2 separate regions of the Homo sapiens genome follow, and region 1 is linked to region 2. The links are contacts of gene promoters, found by promoter capture Hi-C in blood cells and fetal thymus (Javierre and others, 2016). All regions are on one chromosome and are shown on one strand. The core of a region is centred on a gene start or on the middle of the fragment in contact, and the rest is flanking DNA. Distances in the headings are between cores, read along the strand shown. Region 1 overlaps NDUFS6 (NADH:ubiquinone oxidoreductase subunit S6). Region 2 holds the start of FASTKD3 (FAST kinase domains 3).

Region 1 (6,733 bases), core at 1-2,500, 6.1 Mb before region 2:
TGATATGAAGTGACTTTCAGAATTAGGCCGTAAAAGTCACACATGGTCTTTTTGTTTTTTTCCAGGTTTATGATGATAAAGACTACAGGAGAATTCGGTTTGTAGGTCGTCAGAAAGAGGTGAGTAAAAAATCTAGTGAAGAGAGGTAAGCTTTCCTAAAACTTTTATGTAACCAACAAGAAATAAAAATTAATATATAAGATTTAAATAAATTTTCCCCATATTGCAAGCACCCTAACAGTTCTGGATGGGGTTCTTCCTTTCTTAAAATCTTAATTGTGTCTATTTCTGACTTGTTTCCCCCTGAAATACATAACATTGTAGCCGTAGTTCTGGTTTGCATATAAATGGAAGTGATCTTTTTTAAAATTCTTGTCCCTTATTCTCCTGAGACTCTCAGATTTAAGTAAATCATATCAACTTTAAAAAAATTATTCTTTTAACCACCTGGAGGTGTGTTTTTTATAGTTTTCACCAAATAAATTAGTGTGTGTTTTTTACAGGGACTTACACTGACAAGCTGAAAATGGCACATGAGTTTTTCTTCCCTTAGTGGGTCTGTTAGCTCTATGCATTGTAAGGGAAGATCAGTTCAGGTGCCTGTGAGTGACCACTGGAGAAAGAATGTTGAAATTAGAATCCTTCTGCCTAAATCAGCCTATTTTTTTTTTTTACCTGACTCCTTCTCTATCACTCATGTCAATGAGCTCCTGAATTCGTAATTAGATCAGGCATGCCTCCATGATTCCTGAATTTGCTTCCTGAAGGATGCTGTGAAGTGTCCTTCACAGCCACCTTATTCATTCTTTTTCCCACTTTGGTTAGCCTGGTGTTCTTCTTGTTAACACCGTAGCTATCCCTAAATCATGTATTTTCCCTTCTCCTTCAATCTTGGTTACGTTATCCATTCCCAGTGTGTAGTTTTTGTACGTCTATTCCAGAGCTACAGGGCATTCCAGAAAAGCTCACATGATCATGAATTGACTATAAATTCACATTCTCAAAATTCAGCTGGTTCACTGTTGTGTGGTTTGATGGGTGGGTGTCAGAAAAGTTTGTTTTATAGTGGTTGATTATTTGGCAATGCCACTTGAGTGTTGGGTTGAGAAAGATCCTGAGGCCTGATGCACATTCAGTGGAAGAGTGTGCCATGATTGATTAGTGATGTCTACCAGGATCATGGTGGTGGAGAGGGGCTTGTGTCTGGTGGGTTTGCCTCTCGGAGTAGAAGCTGTGTGGACTTGCAGTCTAAAAATTGTGAGGTTGAATCACAGCATGGGTTCAGTTTTCTCATTTGTGAAATGGAACCATGTGAATATTTTTAATTGAATCATAAGTCTCCAGTGATATCACACTGTCAGTTGTCGAGTAAGTGGTGTATAGGGTAAGTGCTCTTTCTCTCCATCCTCAGAAACCCTTTTCTGTTTGTTGTTTGAATTGTTAGTGTATTCCCAGTAGAAGCATCTGTTCCATGTGCCACATTCTCCAATGCTGTATCCCAGTGATTCACACAAAGGAGCTCATGGCATTGCGAATGGGACATTTCTTCCGTGTGCAGGCTGTCCTGGGCATTCTTGTTAGGTATATGAACTTGACATTTGGAAGGTGGAAACCGATGGATGTTGAAAGGATTTGCAGGCCCTTTGGTTTCTTTTGGCAGTGATCGTGGAGAAGGGGAGGTTTCTCTTAGTGTGGATGCGGTATGGTTTCTTTTAGTGGTGACCGTGGAGAAGGGGAGAAACCGATGGATGTGGGGAGGGTTCGCAGGCCCTTTGGTTTCTTTTGGCAGTGACCGTGGTGACGGAGGTTTCCTGGGCATCGATGGGTGGTTGTTACTGAGGTAGTGGCTGGACTCTACATCCTTGCTTTGTGGGTGTTATGGCACGGTCGTGGGGGCAAGGTAGGAGCCCCAGATTGAGCAGTTCTGGAGCAGATTGGTCCTGAAGCCCTTGGGCTCATTCATGCAATCTGGCTTCCAGCCCAGCTCCCTATCTCAGCTCTTGTAGTGACGAAGCAAGTATGTGGGTCCCTGTCACAAACGCCTCTCTGCTGAACATTCTTTGTGTAGCTTCTGGTTTCTGGTTGGTGTAGCATAGGGTAGTGGGAAACAACTTAAACCAAACAGAATCAGGATTGGCGAAGCCAGTGAGGGGTGGGTACGGGATAGTGTGATAGTAGTGTCTGTGACCGGCAGCTCACCCAGGGCGTCCTGGTTGTGACCTCAACGCTCCAGCCGGCCTAGCCTCCAGTGCCTTCCCCCATTCAGCATCCTGAGTGTCCAGGGCACGTCTTGGCCTCACACCTTGGAGGTTCAAGGCATGTTGATAACATGATGAGTGGGCATCCTGCCCAAGCTTTCCTTCTTTCAACACAAATTTGGTGTTTAGTACTATTTTTAGTAGTAGTTGTTTGGCTTCTGAGAGACTTAATTTTTTGGAACACTTTTAGATTTACAGAAAAACTGAAGAAAGTAGGGTTTTCACAGCCCCCCAGCTCAGTTTCTGCTGTTTACTGCCATCTCTCATTAGTGTGCTGCCTGTGTCACAGTTGATGAGCTGATACTCATACATTATTACTAACTCAAGTCCACAGGTTCACTCTTAATGTTGTATGTTCTAGGGTTTGGATAGATGTGTAATGACATGTATTCACTGTGACAGTGTTGTACCGAGTTCACTGCCCTAAAAATCCTCTGTGCTCTGCCTGTTCATCCCTCCCTCTGCCCAACCCCTGGCAGCCCCTGATCGTACTGTCCTCTAGTTTTGTCAAGTAATACTTTAAGAAGTAAACTGGGCCAGGCACAGTAGGCTTATGCCTGTCATCCCAACACTTCGGGAGGCCAAGGTGGGCTGATCACTTGAGCCCAGGCGTTCAAGACCAGCCTGGGCAATATGGTGAAACCCTGTGTCTACAAAAAATATAAAAATTAGCCTAGCATGGTGGCACATGCCTGTAGCTCAAGCAACGTGGGAGGCTGAGGTGGGAGGGTCATTGAGTCTGGGAGGTTGAGGCTGCAGGGAGCTGAGATCATGCCATTGTACTCCAGCCTGGGCAACAGAGCAAGACTCTATCTCCAGAAAAAAAAGAAAAAAATAAACTGAATCTGAACTTCACCTGTAGAACAAGCATAGCAGGAAGCTAGATAATTGAGCTGGTCTTTGCAGAAAAACAGTGGAAAGTATCTTTGTGTGGCTCCTGCCCAGCTTTGACCGGGGGTACCTTCAAAGGAATCCATGGCCCCTGGGCCTGTGACGGGCCTGCCTGTGAGGAGACTCCTCACGTGCTAAAGAATGTGCCAGCCACCCCCAGCCAGAAGTCAGGCCTCACATGGTCCTGGAGCAGGTGGCACTCTGGGGCCACATAAGTCAGATGGGGGACTGGAACAAACTTGGAAGTGACCAGGTATTTCTCTGCTGTTGATGGAAATATTTTCATTGCTTTATAGTCGTACAAGTAAAATTAAAAGCAGATATGACTTGTCCCCTAATAGAAGGGATGACTGGGGGAGGTCTGCAGTGAGGTGTGGTAATAATAACAGCAATAACAACAGCCTGGTAGCCAGGTACTTGGCGACATCATTTGCTTTTTTGGTTAGTAGCTGGGGCTGCCCTGCCTGGCCGCATCCGGATTCAGGCTCCTGCGCTGATGGGCTTATGAGGGCTGTGTGCTTCAGTGACTTAGCTTGTAGGCTCGTGGGCACTGAGTCCGTGTAGATGAGGAAAGGCTTGGAGCAGCGCCTGTCCCAGGGAAGCCTCTAGTGTGTGTTCGCCTTACTCTGCTGCTGCCTTCGCCACCACCATGAGGGCAGGCTTCACTTTTAGATTTTTTTAAAATACTGAAGTTAAACGTTAGTGTCTATACACAAGGTCTTTACTTTTAGTTTTTGAAAAGAAGGAATTAGGCAGCAAACCCGGAACATCAGGAGGCTGGGATCCCTTGAGTGCGACTCTGTGCCACCCCTCTCCACCTGTGTGTGTCAGGATCACGGAACAGCTGGGGGCTTCAGCTTGTGCCTTCATCTGCCCGCCAGTGGGATGGATTCTCTCCTCAGATGCTCGGCAGGGCGGAGTCACTCCCTGACCCGCACAGCCCACAGCTGGGCGTTTGGGTCAGCGAGATTCTGCACGTTTTCTGAGACACCTAGGCTGGCAGGGTTGAGTCCAGTTGTGACCCTGTGGCCTCACCTGCCTGGCCCTCAGTTCTTCAGTAGCAGACTTCAAGGTGCGTGGTGCCACCAGGATTAGGAGCAGTTGCACGCGGTGCAAATGTCTACCTGGCGTGCTGTTTTGTTGCGATAATGTGAAGTTTTATCCTTCTGAGAAGAGTGTGTAGATTTCGTTAATGGAAATAATTGAGTAGTGCTCACGAGAGAGGAAAACTACCAAGACCCTCCAAACAGAAAACAAGCGTGGGTGACGGCGTGGAGCAACTGAAACTTTGTGCCTTGCTGCTGGGAATGTAAAATGGCACAGCCGTGAAGGAAAACAGCGTGTGGGTTCCTCAAAAAGTTGAAACTAGGACTTCCATCCAATCCAGCGGTTCCACTTCTGAGCGTGTGCCCAAAAGAACTGAAAGCGGGGTCCGGGGTACACTCGTGTCATAGCAGCATTATTCATTATAACTCAAATCTGGAAGCAGTTTGGGGGTCCATTGTCAGCTGAACGGATAAGCAAAATGTGATCTGTCCATGGACAGTGGAATATTATTCAGCCTTAAGGAAGAACGCTTGACACGCCCCACAACACGGATAAGCCTGGAGGACGTTGCGCTCAGTGAAGTGAGCCAGTCACAGAAGCAGACTGCGTGATTCCTCTAACACGAGGGACCAGAACAGTCGCTTCTTAGAAGTACTGTATGAGGTACTCAGAGGTACTGCGTGAGGTACTCAGAGGTACTGCGTGAGGTACTCAGAGGTACTGCGTGAGGTACTCAGAGGTACTGTGTGAACACTGTGTGATTCCTCTGATACGGGGGACCAGAACAGTCGCTTCTTAGAGGTAGCAAGTAGTTGGTGGTTGCCGGGGGCGGGGGGTGAATTTGGAGTTAGTGTTGAATGGAAATGGAGTTTCAGTTTACGAAGGTGGAAGGTTCTGGAGATGGGTGGTGGTGATGGTTGCACAATAATGTGAATATACGTGGTGTCCTTAGAAATGGTAAAGATGGCAAGTTTTATGTTATGTGTATTTTACCACAATTAAAAAAAAATTAAGAGGGAAGTGGCTTCAGGCCCACGCAGGAATTGACCAGAGGTTCCTCCCTGAGGCTTCTGTGGCTGGTGTCGCTCATTCTTATTTCTCCCAAGAGGCCGGCAGGGCAGGGCACACTCGGGTGGGGAAGCAAGTGAGGCTGAGGCTGGGCCCACGCGGCACCTCCAGAGGCTCTGCACACCCGTGGTGGTAACTTGTGTTATCACCCAGGACAAGCGCACTCCTCGGATCAGCAGTGGAAGAAACTTGTGACATCTTTCGTCTACATTGAGCCATCTCTTGAGGCCAGCGCAGCACCACCCGAACCATGTTGGCTCTCGTGCGTGCACACACACACTGTTGGTCACAGGAGGGATGCCACCAGAGAGCTGAGAGGGAGTGCTGAGGTACCCAGGGGTCAGTAGCTGCAGGAAGCAGCCACTATTCCTAGGACTTGGGGGGCAGGAGGAAGAGGTGGCGTCACCAGGAGGGAGCTGTGAAAGTGCCCTTGTGGTGCCGCTGGAGCTCCAGGTGGGAGACAGGACTGGGAGTCGGGGATGGGTGCTAGGGTGAGGCCCCCAGCCAGACAGTGGTGGCTGAGAAGGTCCTCCGTGAGAGGAAGATTGAATTGAGGGGCCTCGGAATTCCACCCTCCGCCTTTGCAGGTCATCTGGTTGGTGGCAGAGGTGGAGCTCTGTGCTTGCTTCCAGGTTCATCCTTAGAGGGTTTAAGAGGGGAGGTTTGCCTGAGTCTCTCTTGTCTTGAAGCAACCTGGGCGTCCTTTAGGGGGTGTTTGAGACGCGGGCGGTGCGATGTGCGCCATGGCTGCTCTCCAGAGCTTTTGTGTGGCTTCCCGCTTCTGCATGCTCCTCCTCCTGAGCTTCCCTCCCAAATACGCCATCTTTATAGTGGAGTGAAGGCAATCGGATTTTAAAAGAAATCTTCTGGATGGATAAGAACCGTGGGTCTTTGCTTCCTTTAGAAAGGCTTGGACTGTCAGAAATAATGGTTATAAAGTGAGGTTTATTTATCCCAGGACCCAGAGGAAAATAGTTGGAACTGTGAATTCACGAGCCCCAGGTTCACATGCTGGTGGCTTTGTTTGTGAGCTGGCGAGATGGGCTTTATTTCCTCCCTCATGCAGCTCCCCAGCTTCGTCTTTGCTTCTCTATTGTGTCTTTGTGTCTTGTGGTTCTTTCTCTTCCAAGGCACTGGCAAAATTAGTCACTGGATTCCAACATTCTCAAAGCAAGTTTGAACATGTTGTACAGACAGCTCAATTGTGGTTTTTAGAGCATTTTCTATAAAGTTACTTAGTTTAAAAATTAATTTGAATGAAAACTTCAGTTTTGCCTGTGATTTAAGAATTATATACTTATATAGACATGTATACACACGTTTAGCTTAAATAATTATTGGCATTCATGTTCAGAATGCCTGATGTTCTAAATAATTGAACTGAGCTTTTACTTTATTTTAAACTTTTATTTTAAATGTCCATGAATGGGGTCGGTATTCTACAGTGTCGATGATCCAGCTGGTGGACT
Region 2 (6,057 bases), core at 3,558-6,057:
GATTTAGCCATTCTACAATGTATACATATTTCAAAACAACATGAACATAATAAGTATATACAATTTTTGTTAATTAGAATACATAAATAAAAATTCAATTTTACTTTTAGATCAAAGATCTAAATAAAATTTAAAAGATATTATTTTTAAAAATGTAAAATATTCATGCTCTTGAGATAGGAACCTCGGAAGTCATAAAAGACAGATTCGACTACAGAACATTTAAAAATACATCATAAGTAATATTAAAAAGTAATAAAAGAGTACAAATCGGGAAAATATGTACAACATTCATAATAGTTAATATCTGTTTTACAATGAGTCCTTAAAGACAAACCATCCAACAGAAATAAATTAAGGTGTAGAAAGGCAATTCAAAAGAAATGTAAATGGCCAACACATATTTGAAAATATGCTAAACTTCATTAATGCTCATTAAAATGCAACTTAAATATATGATATGATATCCTCTTTCATGTAGTTGAGTAACACAAATTAAAGAGACTACTAACACACTGCAATAGAAGTGGAGGAGACATGGCCACCTTCATTCATTGCTGGGGAAATGTGACATCTGTAACTATTAGGGAAAAAAAATCTGCCAGTATCCATCAAAAATTAATCCACTAATCACATTTTTGGGAATCTAGTTTATATATGAAAAAAACCAAAAAGGCTCTAGTATGACAGGATTTGCAAGAATGTTTATTATAGCATTCCCGATAGAGACAAAAGTTGCAAAAACCTCCAAGTGCATCAATAGTAGAATAAACACCATGAAATATCATGCCTTTCTAAAAAGAATGCATGTGATCTGTATGCACTGGCCTCGAGGGATGGCCATGATATACTGCGCATAAAAGCAAATTGTACTTTGATTAGTGAGTCTCATTCCTTGAAAAGAGAAAAAAAATAGACAGTGTTTATGTATCTGTATACATTTGGGCGTAGAAACTGCTTTTAATACTGTTCCTTTAGAAATGGTAAGAGATCGGGGTTAACTATTATTTATCTTTATATAACTTAGTACTGTCTAAGCTGTTTTAAAAAAGGGGTATTTTTCCATTCTTATTACCTTATTTCAAAAATCAGATACTCTAAACTATGATTCAGAGTCAAGTAGAGAGAAGCAGAGAGAGAATGTCATAGTCTGGTGTGCTATTTCTGATTCTACATAAGGAATGTGATAGGTAATAGGATAAATCTTTATAGGTCTTTATGGGAAGAGCGAACTCTAGATAAACTAAACTCTATTAGATAAAAGTGAAATTTCTGGCTTGGCTTAAAAATATACTGTACTTGCAAATAATTTAGGTATTTGTTCAGTCCAGACATTCACACTTTGATAACAAACAGCTATGGGAAACCTAGTAGTAAACCTAGTACTAAAACCCTGTAAAACCTTCAGAGAGAATGGAGAAATACTGTAACTCACATGCCTGCAGCACTTGATAAAACCTCCTAAGAAATCTTAAACAGCAGGAAATTGTTCCTTCAAGAACAAGAACACAAAAATGGGGTCCATTTATCAAAGAAAAGCCTATCTGGTGGCAACTGACTCCAAGTAAATGAAATTCTGCTTTTTCAGGTTATTGAGACAGATCAGAAGTAAAGGAACTTAAAAGGAAACTGCACCCATGGGGAAATAAAGCCACATATAGTTCATGCTTTTACCTTATAGAAAGGGCATTCCAGGACTGAGGCTAAGAAAAGTTGGGTCAGTTGTGCCCGACTCAATGTGTCCAAATGAGATTCTTTACCTGAAACAGAAAGCATCCCAGTCATAGTTACGTCTGAATTGAGGTATGTATGAGAGAACATCATGAACATTCAACATCAATTTACACACTCCAGACAGAAGTATTCTATTTTTAAATGACACTATGAAATGAACTTGTTAGAATTAATTATGCCCTCCTCTTGCCACCAATGAAATTGACTTCCAAGAACCCAAGCTCCTAGCTACAGAATACAATTAAAAGAGATAAAATATGTTCACAGAATTAGTGGAAATTTCCTTTAACTATGGAGTTCCGGAAATTTGACATATTTGGGTGGCCTTGAATTAAGATGAATAATACCATCCTCTCAAAAAAAAAAAAAAAGATACAGTTGCTCACTCATCAAAAGTTCTAACATGTTAATGTGGCTATTTCCACTGCCATTACCATATCTCCTAAGAATGCTGCAATTTCTCAGATAAGGCAAAAGTCAGTTTATCTGAGACAGCTTTCTTCCCTCTACATGATTTCCTAGCATGCTTTAACTGTGTTTATGCCAGCATCTGTTAACTTCAGGTCTCATCTTCGGATCACTATGGAAGAAAAACTAAAGGCAACATATTGCCTTTATATGTGACTTGAAACCACTGCCAGTTCAAAGGTTACTTTTTTCCAACTGTCAGAATTTATAACCAACTCACCTTGCAGCCGTTGAAGGAAAAGAGGCTTGAATATTTTTGCCAGAAAGTTGACTGGATGGCATTCATTAAGTGAACATGAATGAAGAAGTTTCAATAATGATTTGGGTGGAAAATAATTGAAATGAGTGAATAGCACGTTTTCCAGCTTTCTAAATAAAGCAGAGGCATTTGGTGGCAAATAATTGAGTTTCCCAAATGGTTCCATTAAGGCAGAAATCTGACGAGGTGAAAATTTTTCTGTTTGGCAAACAAAAGTTTCTGCCACTGCATTGAGGATGGGTTTTGAAAGAATCAGTTCTCTACTGCAGTACTCCATGACCCTGCAGACAACTTCAGGATCCAACGTGAGGCACACCGCAGCTACACGATGCTCTAGGGCTTTTGTAAAAAATGTGTCATGGTGCCCAAAATATATGAACGCCTCCAAGACTCTCCTAAGCTCCTCGTTAGTGAAATGTGGGACATGCCTCACGACATATTTGCCCAATTTTATAATCAGAGGAAATGCTTGACTTTGATCAAGAACCACCAGGGCAGTGAGCATTTGGCTAATCAATTTAGGACTCAGGTTGGAAACTATTGATAGGGAAAAGTTGTTTATCTTATTTAAAAATGTTTGGTGTTCATCCACTTTTTCAGTACATGCCTGCAAGATTCTATAAAGGGCCACAATATCCTCCGGGGTAAATGTTTCCAATTTTTCACCTTGAAGTTGATTTATAATGAGTTCTAGTGTCACACAACCTGAACTGTGCAGTGTAATCAGACTTTCCCCAAGAATACAAAGATTGCGAACTTCCATGCCACCTTTTCTGAGACGATTTTGGCATTCTGCCACCAGGTTCAGCAACAGGCTACTTTGAGGATCCACATGCAACAGAATCAGAGCTTGCAAAGCAGTCACTAAACTAGTGTTTGACAGCTGTGAGGGCTCCTTTTCAAACTGAAAGCATAAAGCTTGAAAGATGCTATTCTCCAGTATTTCTTTTGGCAGCCCTTGATCACCATCCTTTTTTTCCACTTCACAAATTCGTTGTAAAGCTCCTGCTGCCATAGTGTCAGGCAGGGTTTCCATCGTGCTTATAAAACTTAGCACTTCTTCTGATGAAGTCAAGTTGCTCAGTCTCCTGTAAAACATCTGACTCTCCTCATTTTTAACATTTTGTTCAAGCCTGTCGCAGTCAGATACTTGAGAGAACACTGGTCCACCGAGTGGATGAAGGTCATTTCCATTTTTCGAATGAAACTTTTTACAATGGGCATGATGGAATTTGACCCCGAAAGGCTCAGGTTGTCGTGAACACAACCAAGGGCACAGACGCTCCTTGACTACCTTGTGAACATGATTTAGAGGTTTATTTTTTAAAGCAGCCAGAGCTCTATGCATCTGAAAATCAGATAAACGATAAAGGTTCTTCCTCAAGGTGATTAATGCCATACCATCAGATTCTCAATTTGATAACTAAATTAAAAAATTTAAAAACACATGGTTAAATACATTGAGAACATGATTGACCCAACATCAATGTTTATGAAACTACAAACGAGTATCTGGAAAAAAAAAAAAAAAAAAAAAAAGGATGGTTAACATATAAACACCAGAGGGGCAAAGTCTCTGCATCCTAGAGTTAGAAGAGTGGCTGACATTGAACAATAACAATCGCTATTACTTGCTAAACACTGTTGTAGGTATTCTATTAACTTACACAGATTCAGTACTTTTACTATCATTTTACACGAGGAAGAAGTTGAAGCACAAAGTTACTTTGCCCAGTTTATGCAGGTGGTTAAGTGGCAGAGCTAGGGTTCAAACTCAGGCAATGTAGCTCTTAAGGGTGGCCCTTAAATGTTGGTTGAAGGAAGAAATTGCATTTGGATAGAAATCAAAGAACAGGTAAAGTGGGCAAAATTAGGCGAGGTTAGAGCAAGGCAAGGGTAAAAACGCGCTGGAAAGGCCCTAAGCTGTTGGTTTCCCCTCGGTGTCGGGAGAAGGTTAGTGTTGAAGGAAAGGGTCTACTTTGTCAATGGAAACAAGGTAGGAAAAGAAAAAGCAAAACATAGATCAATGAAGGGAGAAGGTGGGGCGGCCAGTCCAGATCTAAAGACGGTGCGGGGGGATTTGGCAACACGTGTGTGCAAGACAGACAGACGGGAGGCCCCGCGGCGCGTTTTCCTAGGAATGAAAGGGACCCGCGGGGCGAGCACCCCCAAACTCGGCGCCCCGGGGACCTGCGCTGAGACACGGGCCGGGCGGCGCAGCCTGAGGAGAAAGCCGGCCAGGTCTTTGACACCCAGCCGGACCAACTGCGCGGAGACCCCGCGTTGACACCTACCGCGCTCTGCCGGGCAATCACTCCGGGTGGTCGCGGAAGCGCCTGGGCGTCGTGGGCCTCCGTAGCAAACGCGGGGCGGGAGCACGACTCAGGGCGGCGCAATGTGATTGGCCCAGGTCCCCTTCGGAGCTTTCTATTGGTCCTGGGTACCGAGCATGGGCGCTGCGTCAGTGCGCGCTGGCGCAAGGTTGGTGGAAGTCGCGTTGTGCAGGTTCGTGCCCGGCTGGCGCGGCGTGGGTAAGCTGCCTGTCGGCTACGGTTCCCGGATTCCGGCCGCTCGCCCTGCACTAATCTCCTGGGAGAGGCGGCCCGGGGCGGGGGTGGGCAGCCGGCTTGCGCCCGTGGTTCCCACGCCCTTCGGCCTCCGGGGGTCGCCGCGGGCGCGGGCTGGGGCTCGGACTTGGCCTTTGGCCTTTGGCTTTGGTGTCCCCGGGAGCGTGTCCTTGGGCTCGGCGTCGGCCTCTGCCGCGGGAGGCCCCTGGGCGGCGTGGGGTCTCTCCTCATGTTCTGCCTTTGGTTCTAGGCGCTTTCCAGGCCTAGGGAAACCGCACTCGGGGACGCGGGGAACTGGGGAACATGCCGGGTTGGGGCGGCGCGCTCCGGGGAACCCGGGACGTTCCGAGCGCCCACCCGGCGGGACGCGGCCGTGAGTTCTGCCCGCGGCCGTGAGCTCTGCCCACCGCCTCCGCGCCGCTTCCGGGGCTGCTGGGGCCCGGGCCTCCGCTGAGAGTCGTGGGAAGGTGGTGCCGGATTGTGGGGCAGTAGCAGGGATGAGGGGTTGATTGATCCTGGGAAGCCCTCAGGATGTGTGTTTCATGGGAAGTGATAGAAATTTTAGCTGTAGTAAGGTTTTCATTATCGTTTCCACCGTTTTCTGTGAGCTGTCAATGTGTAGTGTTTTCATATTGTTTATTCACTCATTCAGATAACTTATCGAGTACCAGTTTCATGCCAGGTGCCGTTCTGGGCGGTTCATTCACCGAAAGCCAAGCTTTTGGTTTGGGTTTCAGTTTAAATCTGTCTCTGCAAATTGACAGCCCACCAATTTTAGCCGTTAGATGAGTATGGAAAAAAATCTGTGAGTGTCGTTTGTTTTACTACTGCTTATCTCTTGCGGAAAAACGTGTTAGTAAAATGTTTAAGTGGATTGGAAATATTTTTTCGTTATATGCACCCGTTTGTATATATGCCCATACACTCACATATTTTTGATTTGCATTAAATAATGAAGGAGAGTATGTGCTTCAGTTACCTTTAGTACTATGATTAGTTTGTTTAGCGTTAGGATCAAATAAGAACCAA

The links. The method cuts DNA at HindIII sites, captures the fragments that hold promoters and counts their contacts. A CHiCAGO score of 5 or more calls a contact.
Region 1: a contact is called between a fragment that was not itself captured here and the fragment with the promoter of FASTKD3 in region 2, in 1 of 17 cell types (fetal thymus). The highest score is 6.1, in fetal thymus.

Annotation. Positions count from the first base shown.
Region 1 is chr5:1,802,256-1,808,988 of GRCh38, forward strand. NDUFS6 (NADH:ubiquinone oxidoreductase subunit S6) reads left to right here. Exons shown (of 4, transcript NM_004553.6): 2 at 66-119. Among named protein-coding and RNA genes, the nearest start is that of NDUFS6, 4.2 kb to the left of the region's middle. The HindIII fragment of the contact is 2,204 bases long and covers 149-2,352 here.
Region 2 is chr5:7,864,224-7,870,280 of GRCh38, forward strand. FASTKD3 (FAST kinase domains 3) reads right to left here and starts at 4,808. Exons shown (of 7, transcript NM_024091.4): 1 at 4,756-4,808; 2 at 2,423-3,973; 3 at 1,675-1,760. The coding sequence starts at 3,860. It overlaps MTRR (5-methyltetrahydrofolate-homocysteine methyltransferase reductase), which reads left to right and starts at 4,925. Exons shown (of 15, transcript NM_002454.3): 1 at 4,925-4,992. RefSeq lists silencers at 4,818-5,257, 5,268-5,317, 5,378-5,427. The HindIII fragment of the contact is 2,367 bases long and covers 3,378-5,744 here.